Regions from separate parts of the Homo sapiens genome. Here regions 2 and 3 are each linked to region 1. Evidence: promoter capture Hi-C in human tissues and cell types (Jung and others, 2019). All regions are on one chromosome and are shown on one strand. The core of a region is centred on a gene start or on the middle of the fragment in contact, and the rest is flanking DNA. Distances in the headings are between cores, read along the strand shown. Region 1 holds the start of PLEKHO2 (pleckstrin homology domain containing O2). Region 2 holds the start of CSNK1G1 (casein kinase 1 gamma 1). Region 3 overlaps CILP (cartilage intermediate layer protein).

Region 1 (4,236 bases), core at 970-3,469:
ACTGACAGACAAAGAAAATAAAATATGTGTTGAATGAAAGCACACAGTATAGAGGCAAAACCAGAGGGTTTTTTGAGCTAGATGGGGAAACTGAGGCCAGAGTAGTTCTCAATGGCTCATTCCCCAAAATGACAGAACTATTTGGATGTCAAACCAACCTGTCCTCACTGCTCTCTCCCTACAAAGGGCTGCTTCTGTGTAACAAAATGAATTTCCCCAGGGTCTCTGGTCTGCTGCAGGTGGAGCATGAGTTTCCAGATACAAGATCTTCTGAGTCCTTGATCATTGGAGTAGAATGCTGCACAGCTCTGCAGATTGAGGGAGTAAAACCATGTGGTGGCCGAAAGAGGTTGCTACATATACAGACTATCTCAGATCCTCAGCCTCAATTTTCCTTCATCTTTCCTTCCTTCCTTTCTTTCTCTCTTTTTCTTTCCTTTCTTTCTTTCTCTTTCTTTCTCTTTTCCCTCCTTGCGTCCCTCCCTCCCTCCCTTCTCTCTCTCTCCCTTTTTTTTTTTGACAGAGTTTCACTCCTGTTGCCCAGACTGGAGTGCAATGGCGTGATCTCAGCTCACTGCAACCTCCGCCTTTCGGGCTCAAGCGATTCTCCTGCCTCAGCCGCTCAAGTAGCTGGGATTACAGGGATGCACCACCTCGCCTGGCTAATTTTCTATTTTTAGTAGAGACGGGGTTTCTCCACGTTGGTCAGGTTGGTCTGAACTCCCGACCTCAGGTGATCAGCCTGCCTCAGCCTCCCAAAGTGCTGGGATTACAGGTGTGAGCCACCGCTCCCAGCTCTTTCTTTTCTTTCCTTCCTTCCCTCCGTCCTTCCTTCCTCTCTCCTTCCTTGTTTCTTTTCTTTCTTTCCTTCCTTCATTTCTCTTTCTTTTCTTTTTCTTTCTTTCCTTTTTTCCTTCCTTCCCTCCCTCCTTCCTCTCTCTCTCCTTCCTCTCTCTTTCTTTTCTATTCTTTCTTTTTCTTGACCAGTGTGATAATATCAGCCTCAATTTTCTTCATTCCTTTAGCTAAAGGATCCCAGGCCTAGGCATGAGGGAGAAGTGTACCTGCATCTCCTTCCCCCTTGGCCTGGGAGCCCCAGGCTGCCCTTTTCCGTACAGGGCTGGAAGTAGCCTGGGAGCCTGAGGGCTGGCAGAAGGCCGTGAAAGGGGAGCTTGGTCGCTGGCACAGCCGCTGCTATGGCAGCCAGAGCCGAAGAAGGTCACCATTGATCTCACATGCACTTAATTTTCCCTTCCTTGGCATGGGACGGGGTTGACCAGGAGAGCTAAGGGGGAGTATGCGTGTGTGTGTGAGAGGGGAGCGGTGCTGCAGGCTGCGATGCAGCCAGTTACTTTCTCTCTCTGGGCCTCAGTTTCTCCAATGTAAAATGAGGGCGCATGGTATAACTAAAATCATTACTCTCTGCTGGTCCCCACACTCCCACTCTCCAGTAAGGCTGTCAGGGCTGCAAGCTCACCGCGGGATCGGGGGGATGGTCGACCCTCAGATACGGGAGGGATTGAGCGATGCCCAAGGAGAGCAGGAGAACACTGCGCTTGGAGACCCCTGAGAGCCAGGGGCGGGCCGCCCCCTAAAGGGACCCCGGAGTCCCGACTCTCAGCTCCAGCTCTTCCTGTGACACCACCCTCCGGACAGAGACCCAAGCTCCAGGCCCGGCCCCGCCCAGAGGTTCCAGGGAGAAGACCAGGCCACCGCCCACTGCCCGGCGTCGGGGAGGAAAGAGGAGGAGCCTCTGTGTGCCCACATCTCTGGCCGCCCAGGGCAGCTCGGCTCGGTCTCGCAACCCCAGCCCACTGGTTCGGGAGACCTCAAAGGCTCCACCGCCAGCGCCCCCAGCGCTCACTGTGTGCGCCCCACCCCAGCCCTGCCTGCGCGCCGCTCCCGCCACCCTCGCCTCAGTCTCTGGGCCGGAAGCCCCCTCTCCTCCCCCGCCGCAGCCCCCTCCTAGTCCCTCTCCCTCCGCCGATGCGGGAAACCTTCTCCGCCCCGTCCCGCCCTCTTCCTCCAGTTGCATCTCCGCCCGGCTCCTCCGTCCAGTCTCCAACCCAGGCCCCGCCCCTCCCCACCCATTTCCCGCCCTGGGCCGGGCCCCCGGCCCCACCGCCCCCTCCCCGGCCCCGCCCCGGCCCCCGGAAGCCTCACCCCGCCCCCGGCCCCGCCCCCCCGAAGTTTCTTGGGCCCCCGGCAGCCGGCGGGACAGAACGCGGAGAGTCGCCGCCTGGCCGGGCGTAGACGCGGTGGCAGAGCCCGCGCGGCGCTGGAAGCGAGTGGCGGAGCGGCGGGACCTCGGCGGACTCGCCATGGAGGAGGAGGTGAGGGCGGGGCCCGGCGGGGCGTTGGGCTGGGGTCCTCGAGCCCCTCACGGGGATTGCGGTCCTGGGCTCAGGCCCTCGTTCCTGCCCGCCCCACTCCCGCCAGTCTCACCTCAGGAAGAGCCTGGGCAAATGGGGCAGGGGCGAGGGGCTGGATCCATATCGGGGACTTCGCAGACCGCGTCCTCCTTCATTCTCGCTGACTTTCTCACCAGTTGTGGGGCGTCGTGGTTGTTACCGTTCCCATTGGATTGACCAGGAGACTGAGACTCCAGCGAGATTGATGACTTGCTGAAAGTGGCCTGGGTGACTGGGCTCGAACCCCGATTACCGTGGTCGGATCCTGACTCTCTCTCTCTCTCTGTGTGTGTGTGTGTGTGTGTGTGTGTGTGTGTCGGATCCTGACTGTGTGTGTGTGTGTATGTGTGTGTTGGGGGGTTCCTGTCTCAAGGATCGGATCCTGACTCTGTGTGTGTGTGTATGTGTGTGTTGGGGGGTTCCTGTCTCAAGGATGTGACCATGCTTTGGTGGCAGGAGGATTGGAGAAGTTGCTTTTTTCTCCCTTGTATAAGTCTCTGTATCTTTTCCCCCACTCTCTCCCCGCTCCACATCCATCTGAGCAGCTAGCTGTAGGGAAGGAATCGGGAGTCCGGCCCACCTAGGGTCTGATCTTAGTCCCTGCCTTCCCCACCCGAGGGCTGGACCAACTGTGTCCCTGGAGCCTCCTTCTAACCACTCAAAACACTCTTGGCCTGGGATTGGGTCTTGCCCCTGCCCCTGCCCTTTACTTGCAAACTCAGTTCTGCCAGCAGCCGCTTTATCCGAGGGTCCAGCACGCAGCAAGCACTTAATATATGCCTGTGGAATGATTAAGTTAAAATGAGGGGCCTGTTGGGTCTAGAGGAAGGTGAATTTGTTTCTTATCCCCTGAGGGGGTCCCAGCTTCAGCCCCTCTCAGCCCAAGGGAAGGGGCATGTCTTTGCCTCCTTGGATGGGGAGGAAAGATGAAGTTCTCTGCCTTGGGGGAACCCTGGCCAGCTGGGAAGCCCTGAGTGGACCGGACTGCCTGTGTCCCTTCAGTGCCCACCTCCCACTTTTCCAGGGCCATGGATAGGAGCAGCTAGTGGTCCGTCAGGGCTCCCTCTAGGCCAGGCCCTGCCTTTCTGTGGGATGGTAGATAAGTCACTTCCCCTCTCAGCCTTCATTTCCTCTTCTACAAAATATAGTGCCTGTCCTCCTCATACTCCTGGCCTGACAGTGGCCGGTTCTCTCAGTGGGTGAAGGTAGGGGGCAAAGTCAGGCCTCTGTGATTTGCTGCGGTTTCTTTCTGGCTGTTAGGTGGGGCTGCCATCTGCCTGCCCCAGGCCCCTGCTGCAAGGGCTGGGCTCTCTGGCCAGGGCCCCTCCCCTGCTCCCAGAGGATGTGGGTCAGGATTACTCCATCTCCTGATCTGCGCTGGCCCCTGATTAAGGGAAGTTCTCCGGACACCTCCTGGGCCCGGCTCAGCTCTGTACACCCTTGGTCCTGAATCTCTCACATTGTCACTTTCTTTTCTTTTTTTTTTTTTTTGAGACGGAGTTTCGCTCTTGTTGCCCAGGCTGGAGTGCAGTGGCGAGATATTGGCTCACCGCAACCGCCACCTCCTGGGTTCAAGCAATTCTCCTGCCTCAGCCTCCTGAATAGCTGGGATTACAGGCATGCACCACCACGCCTGGCTAATTTTGTATTTTTAGTAGACATGGGGTTTCTCCATGTTGGTCAGGCTGGTCTCGAACTCCTGACCTCAGGTGATCCGCCTGCCTCGGCCTCCGAAAGTGTTGGGGTTACAGGCATGAGCTATTGCACCCAGCCTATATTGCCACTTTCTGACTCCTAGATGCCCAAAGCTCTCTAAATATCTGGG
Region 2 (4,236 bases), core at 1,249-3,748, 490 kb before region 1:
GACTTCATGGGCTGGGTGAGGTGGCTCACACCTGTAATCTCAACACTTTGGGAGGGCGACGCAGGAGGTTTGCTTGAACCCAGGAGTTTGAGGCTGCAGTGAGTATAATTGCCCCAGTGCATTCATTCTGGCCTAAGTGACAGAGAAAGACCTTGTCACTAAAAATAAATAAAAAACAGACTTCATGTTTCTTGGATTTATTTCTATATCGTAATAAGGAATGATTTAAAGGCAGAAATGTATTCGATTTTGTTTTCTGAATATTATATAAGTTTTTCTAGTAGCATAAATCTAACTGAGATGAGAGGTGCTGCTGATGCTGCTGATTTTTATCTTAAAATTACAAGTAGGCCGGGCACGGTGGCTCACACCTGTAATCCCAGCACTTTGGGAGACCAAGGCGGATGGATTACAAGGTCAGGAGTTCAAGACCAACCTGACCAACATGGTAAAACCCTCTCTCTACTAAAAATACAAAAAATTAGCTGGGTGTAGTGGCAGGCGCCTGTGATCCCAGCTACTCAGGAGGCTGAGGCAGGAGAATCGCTTGAATCCTGGAGGTAGAGGTTGCACTGAGCCGAGATCGTGCCACTGCACTCCAGCCTGGGTGATAGAGCAAGACTCTGTCTCAAACAAACAAACAAACAAACAAAAAACAAGTACCTTCTATTTTACACCCCAATTTTAATTCTCTTTAAAGAGACATGTGATGTTAAGATTTACATACATTACTTTTTCATGTATTTCGTGTTAATCCATACTATAAACACCAATATGGTGTAGCTGAGAAAAATCTATAAAATATATTTTGCTCATTTCAATAAATGGGCCATATTCTACTTTATTATTTTGAATTTTAAGAAACTACTGATAACTGAATTTCATGCTACCTACGATCAATTTCGAGAAGACACTGAAAGTCCTATTGTATGCATTTTTTTTTCAAAATTATCCGGTTGCTTTCCTATCTCAAACCTCGTTTCACAAAACTGGGCTGCCTTGACTGTGTATGATTAATGGTAATAATTTATCTTCTAATTCAAAGGTGGTTCCGTTTAAAATGGGATGTTACTTATAATACAGGTAAGAATTTTAACTCATACTACTTATGAAGAAACAAAAGCTCTGGTAGGTTCCATGACTTGCCCAAGGTCAGTAACTAGCAACTGGCATAGTCTAGGTTCAACCCAAGATTTATCTGCCTGAAAGTCAATACTTCCACTTGACCGCAATTATCTCCTTAAAAGATTAAGACACAGGCTCAACAGCAGAACATTCATTCTCTCTCTGAAAATTCACATATCTGTTCTGAGACATCACTACACAGCACCTAGTATTCAGTCACTGATTGAAACAAAAATGAAGAGGATCTTTCTACTTCATTTAAATTAGGACAGGTTTACTGGCAGGTAAGAAAGAGGCTGCAAAAGCCTTGCCTCAACATGTCTTGCCTAGACCTGTGATACATCTATATGGTTTCCCCAGTCCATTCTTTTTAAATAAACACGTACATCTACTACACAAGACTACACCTGGACTAGCCTATTGTTAAATGCTTTTCAGAATTCCACTTTTCTAAGGTAATTTATACCGGAATTAATATCGAGCTGGGAGACTTGGTTGAATATGTCATTCAGGCACTTTCCAAACATCTTAAGTGTCATTTAGGGGCAACAAACCCAGTTCCACTCTCTTTTACATTGTGATGCCTGCCCACTTGGGGGACATTGCTCCTGTAGGACGTGGGGGCGAGGAAACAGTAAAGGAAGAAGTGGGGGAAGCGTACGGAAGTTGGGTAGAGGAAAGTCTCATTACCCACTCTTGTGCCCTAAGCTCCGCCAAGGGCGGCTCCCCGCGGTACCCAGTCGACTCAGAACCCCCACAACCTTCGAAGTCCAGCTCTGTCCCAGCGGGGTGGGTAGGGAAAGAGGGCAATGGAAGCACGGGATAGCCCCAGTCACCCTGACGAGATCTGTGCCCTCCTTTTGGCTCCCGGGGGATGCTCCCCCTTTCAGAGTAAGCCCTCCAGGTGGCAAACTCCCGGTCCACACCGGCTAGAGTCAGTTTCTCGGAAGGGGCGCCTCCTCCGCCTACCTCTACCCCGCTAACCGAAACTCTCCACCCGCTGTGTCCCTCAGCCCCTCCATTCCGCCCCCGCAACCCTCCACAGACACAAACGCCAGCCTGCGCCCCACCCGGGATCACGGCGTCCCCCACCCACGCCCAGGAAAGGGCCCCCCACCAACCCCCTCAGACACACACACACCCCCTCAGACTTCAGCCTACAGAACCCCGACGAAGCCGGGCAGATACCTGGTCCAGCAGTGCTGCAAGGCGCAAATGAGGCGGGCGCGGTCCCCTCCCCGAGGCGCCAAGTGCTTCTCTACCCACCCGCAGCGGTGGTTTCTCTCTTTCCCAGGAGCGGGAGGGAGGGGAGAAGGCGGACGGGAGGGGGAAGGCGAGGAGCCGAGGGGCGGCTGGAGCCGAACCGGAACCACTAGCGCGGCCCCGCCCTCGTCCCGGAGTCGCAGAGTACCCTGGCGGGCCTAATAGGACAAACTTTGGGCAGGCAGCGTTAAACTGACACCATCACTTCCGGGTTATCCCCACGGCTGCCCCCTCCTTAGCAACCGCGTGGGGTTGCTAAGCGGAAGTGCCTTCAAAGCAACCCACCCCCATTTCTTCTGGGACTACCAGAAGATATATCGGGAGCACTGAGCTCTGCTTTGGCAACACGCTCTTACCTTCTGCTCAAGATCTTAGACCAAGTACACGCTTCGCTGCCAGAGGCACGAAACCCATCCCGCTTTTCCCTTCAACTGTACTCCTCCACCAAGCCCCCGTCTCTATATACTCCTGCTCCCTCCCACCCTTAATCCCGTGGCTGACCCAGTGGCTGTTCCTAAGGCTCCAGGCTCCTCTCTCAGGTCCCTCGAGGGAATTATTTTCTGACGGTTTAGCAAGCATCTCCCTCTTGTGGATTTTTAATTGTGTTTCAACCAGATTTTTAAAATTTCTTTCAATGTTGTGAAAGGTTTTTCATGCACTTAGTTCTCCTGTGACAGCCCATGAAGCCGAATGGTTAGAAAAATGTTGTCTTCACCTACATTTTGTAAGAGCTGCACATGTTTGTGTAAGGTCTGGAATTAACCTAGCCAAATGGAATAGGCAAAAAAGATTCAATGTAACTCGACAGTTATTTTAATCCTTAAAACAGAGAGCAGGGCACATGTTCTCAGGACCTCTTGAGACTGCGCCTCGGGGGCGGGGTGGTGGTGGAAAAAAGACAGAAAACAAAGAAAAAGGCTAAAGGGAGCCCATAATCAAATTTGGGAAGGAAGAAGACTGTCTAATCCTCCACTCAAAACTCAAAATATGCCGGGTGCGGTGGCTCACACCTGTAATCCCAACACTTTGGGAAGCCGAGACTGGCGGATCACGAGGTCAGGAGATGGAGACCATCCTGGCCAACATGGTGAAACTCCGTCTCTACTAAAAATACAAAAATTGGCCGGGCGCGGTGGCTCGCGCCTGTAGTCCTCCTGTAAGCACTTTGGGAGGCCGAGGCGGGCAGATCACGAGGTCAGGAGATGGAGACCATCCTGGCCAACATGGTGAAACCCCGTCTCTACTAAAATACAAAAAATTGGCTGGGGGTGGTGGCACGTGCCTGTAGTCCCAGTTACACGGGAGGCTGAAGCAGGGGAATTGCTTGAACCCGGGAGGCGGAGATTGCAGTGAGCCGAGATCGTGCCATTGCACTCCAATGGCACTCCAGCCTGATGACAGAGCGAGACTCCGTCTCAAAAATAATAATAAATAAATAAACAAACAAACAAAAATTAGCTGGGCGTGGTGGCGTGTGCCTGTAGTCCCAGCTACTCGGGAGACTGAGGCAGGAGAATCGCGGGAACCCGGGAGGCGGAGGTTGCAGTGAGCCGAGACCGCGCCACTGCCCTGCAGCATGGAGACAGAGCTAGACTCCGTCTAAAAAAAAAAAAAAAAACCTTCAAAATAAACTTTCATACCGACACTATGGATAAGAAAAGAGACCTCATTTATTGTGTCTGGGTGATTTGGGGTTTGAAAATATTGGGAAAATGAATGGTTGGGGTAAAAGTTAACAAAGTAATACTCGAAAAAAACAACTCGTATCTGGAGGCTGGGTGCGGTGGCTCACGCCTGTAATCTCAGCACTTTGGGAAGCCGAGGCCTGAGGATCACCTGAGGTAAGGA
Region 3 (4,236 bases), core at 508-3,007, 350 kb after region 1:
ATCTACAAAATTTTCAATCTCTTCCATTTCTAGCAGTGTGGGATACAGCAAATTCTTTTTTTTTGATGAGGGGACAGGGTCTCACTCTGTTGCCCAGACTGGAATACAGTAGCATAATCACAGCTCACTGCAGCCTCTACCTCCCAGGCTCAAGCGCTCCTCCCATCTCAGCCTCCCGAGTAGCTGGGACTACAGGTGTGTGCCACCATGCCTGGCTAATTTTTGTATTTTTTAAGAGATAGGGTTTCACCATGTTGCCCAGGATGGTCTGGAACTCCTGGGCTCAAGTGATCTACCTGCCTCAGCCTCCTAAAGTGCTAGGATTACAGGCATGAACCGCCACACCCAGCCAGCAAAGCCTTTTTTTTTTTTTTTTTTTTGAGACGGAGTCTTGCTCTGTCGCCCAGGCTGGAGTGCAGTGGCACAATCTTGCCTCACTGCAACCTCCGCCTCCTGGGTTCACGCCATTCTCCTGTCTCAGCCTCCTGAGTAGCTGGGACTACAGGCGTCCGCCACCACGCCTGGCTAATTTTTTGTATTTTTAATAGAGACGGGGTTTCACCATGTTAGCCAGGATGGTCTCGATCTCCTGACCTGGTGATCCACCCTCCTCGGCCCCCCAAAGTGCTGGGATTACAGGCGTGAGCCACAGGCGCCTGGCCAATTTTTGTATTTTTAGCCATGTTGGCCAGGCTGGTCTTGAACTCCTGACCTCAGGTGATCTGCTAGCCTCCGCCTCCCAAAGTGCTGGAATTGTAGGTGAGAGCGACCGCCCAAGGCCTTAGGACTGCCCTTTATATGCCACACCCCCACCATGGACACAGTTGACTGGACTAGAGGCAAACTGCAGCTGGGCCAACCAGATTGTCTCTCCAGGGAATTTGATTGGATAGCAGGATTGCCCTGTATTTCCCACCCCTGCCATGGCCACGGTTGATTGGACTAGAGGTGGAGCCCCAATTCAAACTGGGCCAATCAAATTCGGTCTTCAAGACAGGGCTATTCATTGACTTGAGATATAAATAGGGTGGCCACCTTCTTCTGTGAGCCCAGAGGAACAGAGAAAGCATATCTGCAAGCAGAACCAAGGGTTCCTGCAGAGAGGAAAGACCACACAGTGAGAGGGAGAGACTGCAACAGAGACAGGGGCTAAGAAGAGAGAGAAATTGGCCGGGTGCGGTGGCTCACGCCTGTAATCCCAGCACTTTGGGAGGCCGAGGCGGACGGATCACGAGGTCAGGAGATAGAGACCATTCTGGCTAACACGGTGAAACCCTGTCTCTACTAAAAATACAAAAAATTAGCCAGGCGTGGTGGCACCCGCCTGTAATCCCAGCTACTCGGGAGGGTGAGGCAGGAGAATCGGTTGAACGTGGGAGGTGGAGGATGCAGTGAGCCGAGATCGCACGACTGCACTCCAGCCTGGGCAACAGAGAGAGACTCCGTATCAAAAAACAAAAAACAAAACAAAACAAAACAAAAATAGCCTGGCATGGTGGCGGGCGCCTTTAATCTCGGCTACTCAGGAGGCTGAGGCAGGAGAATTGCTTGAACCCGGGGGGCGGAGGTTGCAGTGAGCCGAGATCGCGCCATTGCACTCCAGTCTGGGCAACAAGAGCACAGCTCCGTCTCAAAAAACAAAAACAAACAAACAAAAAAAAATAGAAATAAAGTCAGAGAGACAGTCTGAAAAACAGAGCATTGTAGGCCAGACGCGGTGGCTTACGCCTGTAATCCCAGCACTTTGGGAGGCCGCGGCGGGTGGATCACGAGGTCAGGACATCGAGACCATCCTGGCTAACACGGTGAAACTCTGCCTCTACTAAAAATACACACAAAAAAAGTTAGCCGGGCGTGGTGGCGGGCGCCTGTAGTCCCAGCTACTCGGGAGGTTGAGGCAGGAGAATGGCGTGGACCCGGGAGGCGGAGCTTGCAGTGAGCCGAGATGGCGCCACTGCATTCCAGCCTGGACAACAAAGCGAGACTCTGTCTCAAAAAAAAAAAAAGAAAAAAGAAAAGAAAAGAAAAAGAAAAACAGAGCATGTAACCCAAGATTGAATTAGAAATTGAGAGAACCAAAGCCACCGAGCATGAGAGAAGACAAGTTAATTGAAACCAGAAAGAGTGATTACCTGGATTCTGATGGCTCTGCAATTCTTGGTTCCAGTCCTTCCTGAGGTTACCTGGCACCCCTGTTACTTGTAATCAAAAGACTGCCAGTGCACAGTCCCACCTCTATTCTTTGGCTCTAGCCAACACCTTTACCTGAAACCCCATCTACCTCTAATTTTGCTTAAGTCCTCTCAATCCTTCCAGACTCTGTTCTTGTCCCAACATCTTGGTGACATTTTTCTCTTATCACGTCAGCTGCTAGAACTCTTTGAACTTGAGAGAACATTGTTTGAAAACTCCCTTGTTTGTAAGCAGAAGCAACCTGATCTGCCCATCTACCTGCCTGTTCCCCTCCTCCATGCCATATGGTACCGACCTTCACAGAATTCGCACTCAGTAACTGGGTGATCAGAAGGCTGAGACTGAAACGCTAGGGCTTTCCTGAGATGAGCATTTTGTCCATCCAGTGTGCAGTCTCCACAGGGGAACAACCGACAAATCAGCAGTGGTTTAATGAACTGAAAGCATCCTGGGAATGGTGCTATTAGCCTCACTGAAAATCATGAAAAGGGCTTTAGAAATCCTTCATTTATAGGTGAGTAAATTGAGGTCCAGGGGAAAGTTATGCAGCTAGCAAGGAGCACATTTGATTTTGGAGGCAAGACTCTTAGGAATTAAGTATCATGAGTTCAACTCAAGAATGCTGGCTAGGCCTGGCGGCAGTTCACACCTGTAATCCCAGCGCTTTGGGAGGCTGAGGTGGGTGGATCACCTGAGGTCAGGGGTTCAAGACCAGCCTGGCCAACATGGTGAAACCCTGTCTCTACTAAAAATACAAAAATTAGCTGGGCATGGAGGTGCACACCTGTAATCCCAGCTACTCGGGAGGCTGAGGCAGGAGAATCGCTGGAACCCCGGGGGCAGAGGTTGCAGTGAGCCAAGATCGCACCACTGCACTCCAGCCTAGGCGAAAGAGCAAAACTGCGTCTCAAAAAAAAAAAAAAAAGTGTTTCCTTGTCTGAAAGAGAGGTATCTGCCTGCAAGCCCCACCCAGCCTGCAGTCCCTGGTTTTGCACATCTGTTTCTGCTTGTGCCTCTCGTTCCTGACAGCCATACCATTAGCAGGCCACCTCCTAGCTATCATTCAGACCTCAAATTAGATGTCACCTTTTCTAAGAAGACTTCTTTGACCACTACTTCCTCAAAGTCTGATGCCATGACATGTAGTATGTTTTGTACTATCTCATAAAAGCTTGTCTACTTGCATACATGGTTTGGCACTCAATAAATGTTTGGCGAGTGAAGGAAAAAGTCAGGCATCAGATGCTGTGTGCTGGAGTCCATTTATTCAGGCCCTCAATTGAGAACAGCAAGGAAAGTGCCCTAGAGTGGGGAACCAGTCAGCCCACCTTCCCCAGCAACCCACCCCCCCCCGACCCTCCCCCTCCCCCCGTGAGTTTGAAGTGAACTGGTGGTCAGGTTGAAGCAGCAGGCACTCTGGCTCCTGAAGTGGCTGGGGCGATGGTGCTGCAGATAGCTGTGCACTCACAACAGGGGCAGTCAAGCCTCCCCAAGCAGTCAGTGAGAGCTGCTTCCTGGGAGCAGTGGGACAGATGTGGAGTCTGGAAGTGGGTCAAGTTGCAATCACAAGACCACTAGTCCTCACTCCTGCAGATGCTTGCTTTTTCTATGGTTATTGTGATGTGCTCAGCTAGAGAAATTTCTAATTGCTTACAAACCAAATTCCCAGGAGCCGGGCAGATGGTGATCCAAGAGTACAAATCCAGCCCAGGCCAGAGATGGGTAAAGGAGCTGCACTAGGCTGGCCAGGGCATCAGGGAAAGCTTTTTGTCCTGATTGTAAACAGTGTCCTCTCTTCTCCCAAACCCTTTGGACTCTTGCCTGACAGATTCTGGAGGGGTTGGGATAGGGGCAGTGAGTGCATCCTATCCAACCCCACACCCCACTACCCTGACTGTAATGCCGCTGAGATCGCTCTGGCACCACCTATGGGCCTCTGATTTACTATTTTAAACCAAATACCTTTTCCAAAACCAAAACTCTGCCCGTTTGGACCAATTGTTTTGCTCCAGGGACAGGGTCTGTAACACACAACAGAGATCT

Evidence for each region. Contacts are between HindIII fragments. The study calls those that stand out against the background at their distance.
Region 2: a contact is called between the fragment with the promoter of CSNK1G1 here and the fragment with the promoter of PLEKHO2 in region 1, in 5 of the 25 tissues and cell types used here (adrenal gland, bladder, heart left ventricle and 2 more).
Region 3: a contact is called between a fragment that was not itself captured here and the fragment with the promoter of PLEKHO2 in region 1, in 1 of the 25 tissues and cell types used here (pancreas).

Annotation. Positions count from the first base shown.
Region 1 is chr15:64,839,696-64,843,931 of GRCh38, forward strand. It overlaps PLEKHO2 (pleckstrin homology domain containing O2), which reads left to right and starts at 2,220. Exons shown (of 6, transcript NM_025201.5): 1 at 2,220-2,333. The coding sequence starts at 2,322. It overlaps LOC124903508 (a long non-coding RNA gene), which reads right to left and starts at 461. Exons shown (of 4, transcript XR_007064682.1): 1 at 159-461; 2 at 1. RefSeq lists silencers at 1,743-2,062, 2,073-2,512 and enhancers at 2,320-2,843, 2,876-3,427. The HindIII fragment of the contact is 9,878 bases long and covers 1-4,236 here.
Region 2 is chr15:64,353,675-64,357,910 of GRCh38, forward strand. CSNK1G1 (casein kinase 1 gamma 1) reads right to left here and starts at 2,499. Exons shown (of 12, transcript NM_022048.5): 1 at 2,314-2,499. RefSeq lists silencers at 1,765-1,824, 2,215-2,274, 2,385-2,434. The HindIII fragment of the contact is 13,823 bases long and covers 1-4,236 here.
Region 3 is chr15:65,191,321-65,195,556 of GRCh38, forward strand. CILP (cartilage intermediate layer protein) reads right to left here. Exons shown (of 9, transcript NM_003613.4): 9 at 3,440-4,236. Among named protein-coding and RNA genes, the nearest start is that of CLPX, 8.1 kb to the left of the region's middle. RefSeq lists an enhancer at 751-1,045. The HindIII fragment of the contact is 3,805 bases long and covers 1-3,660 here.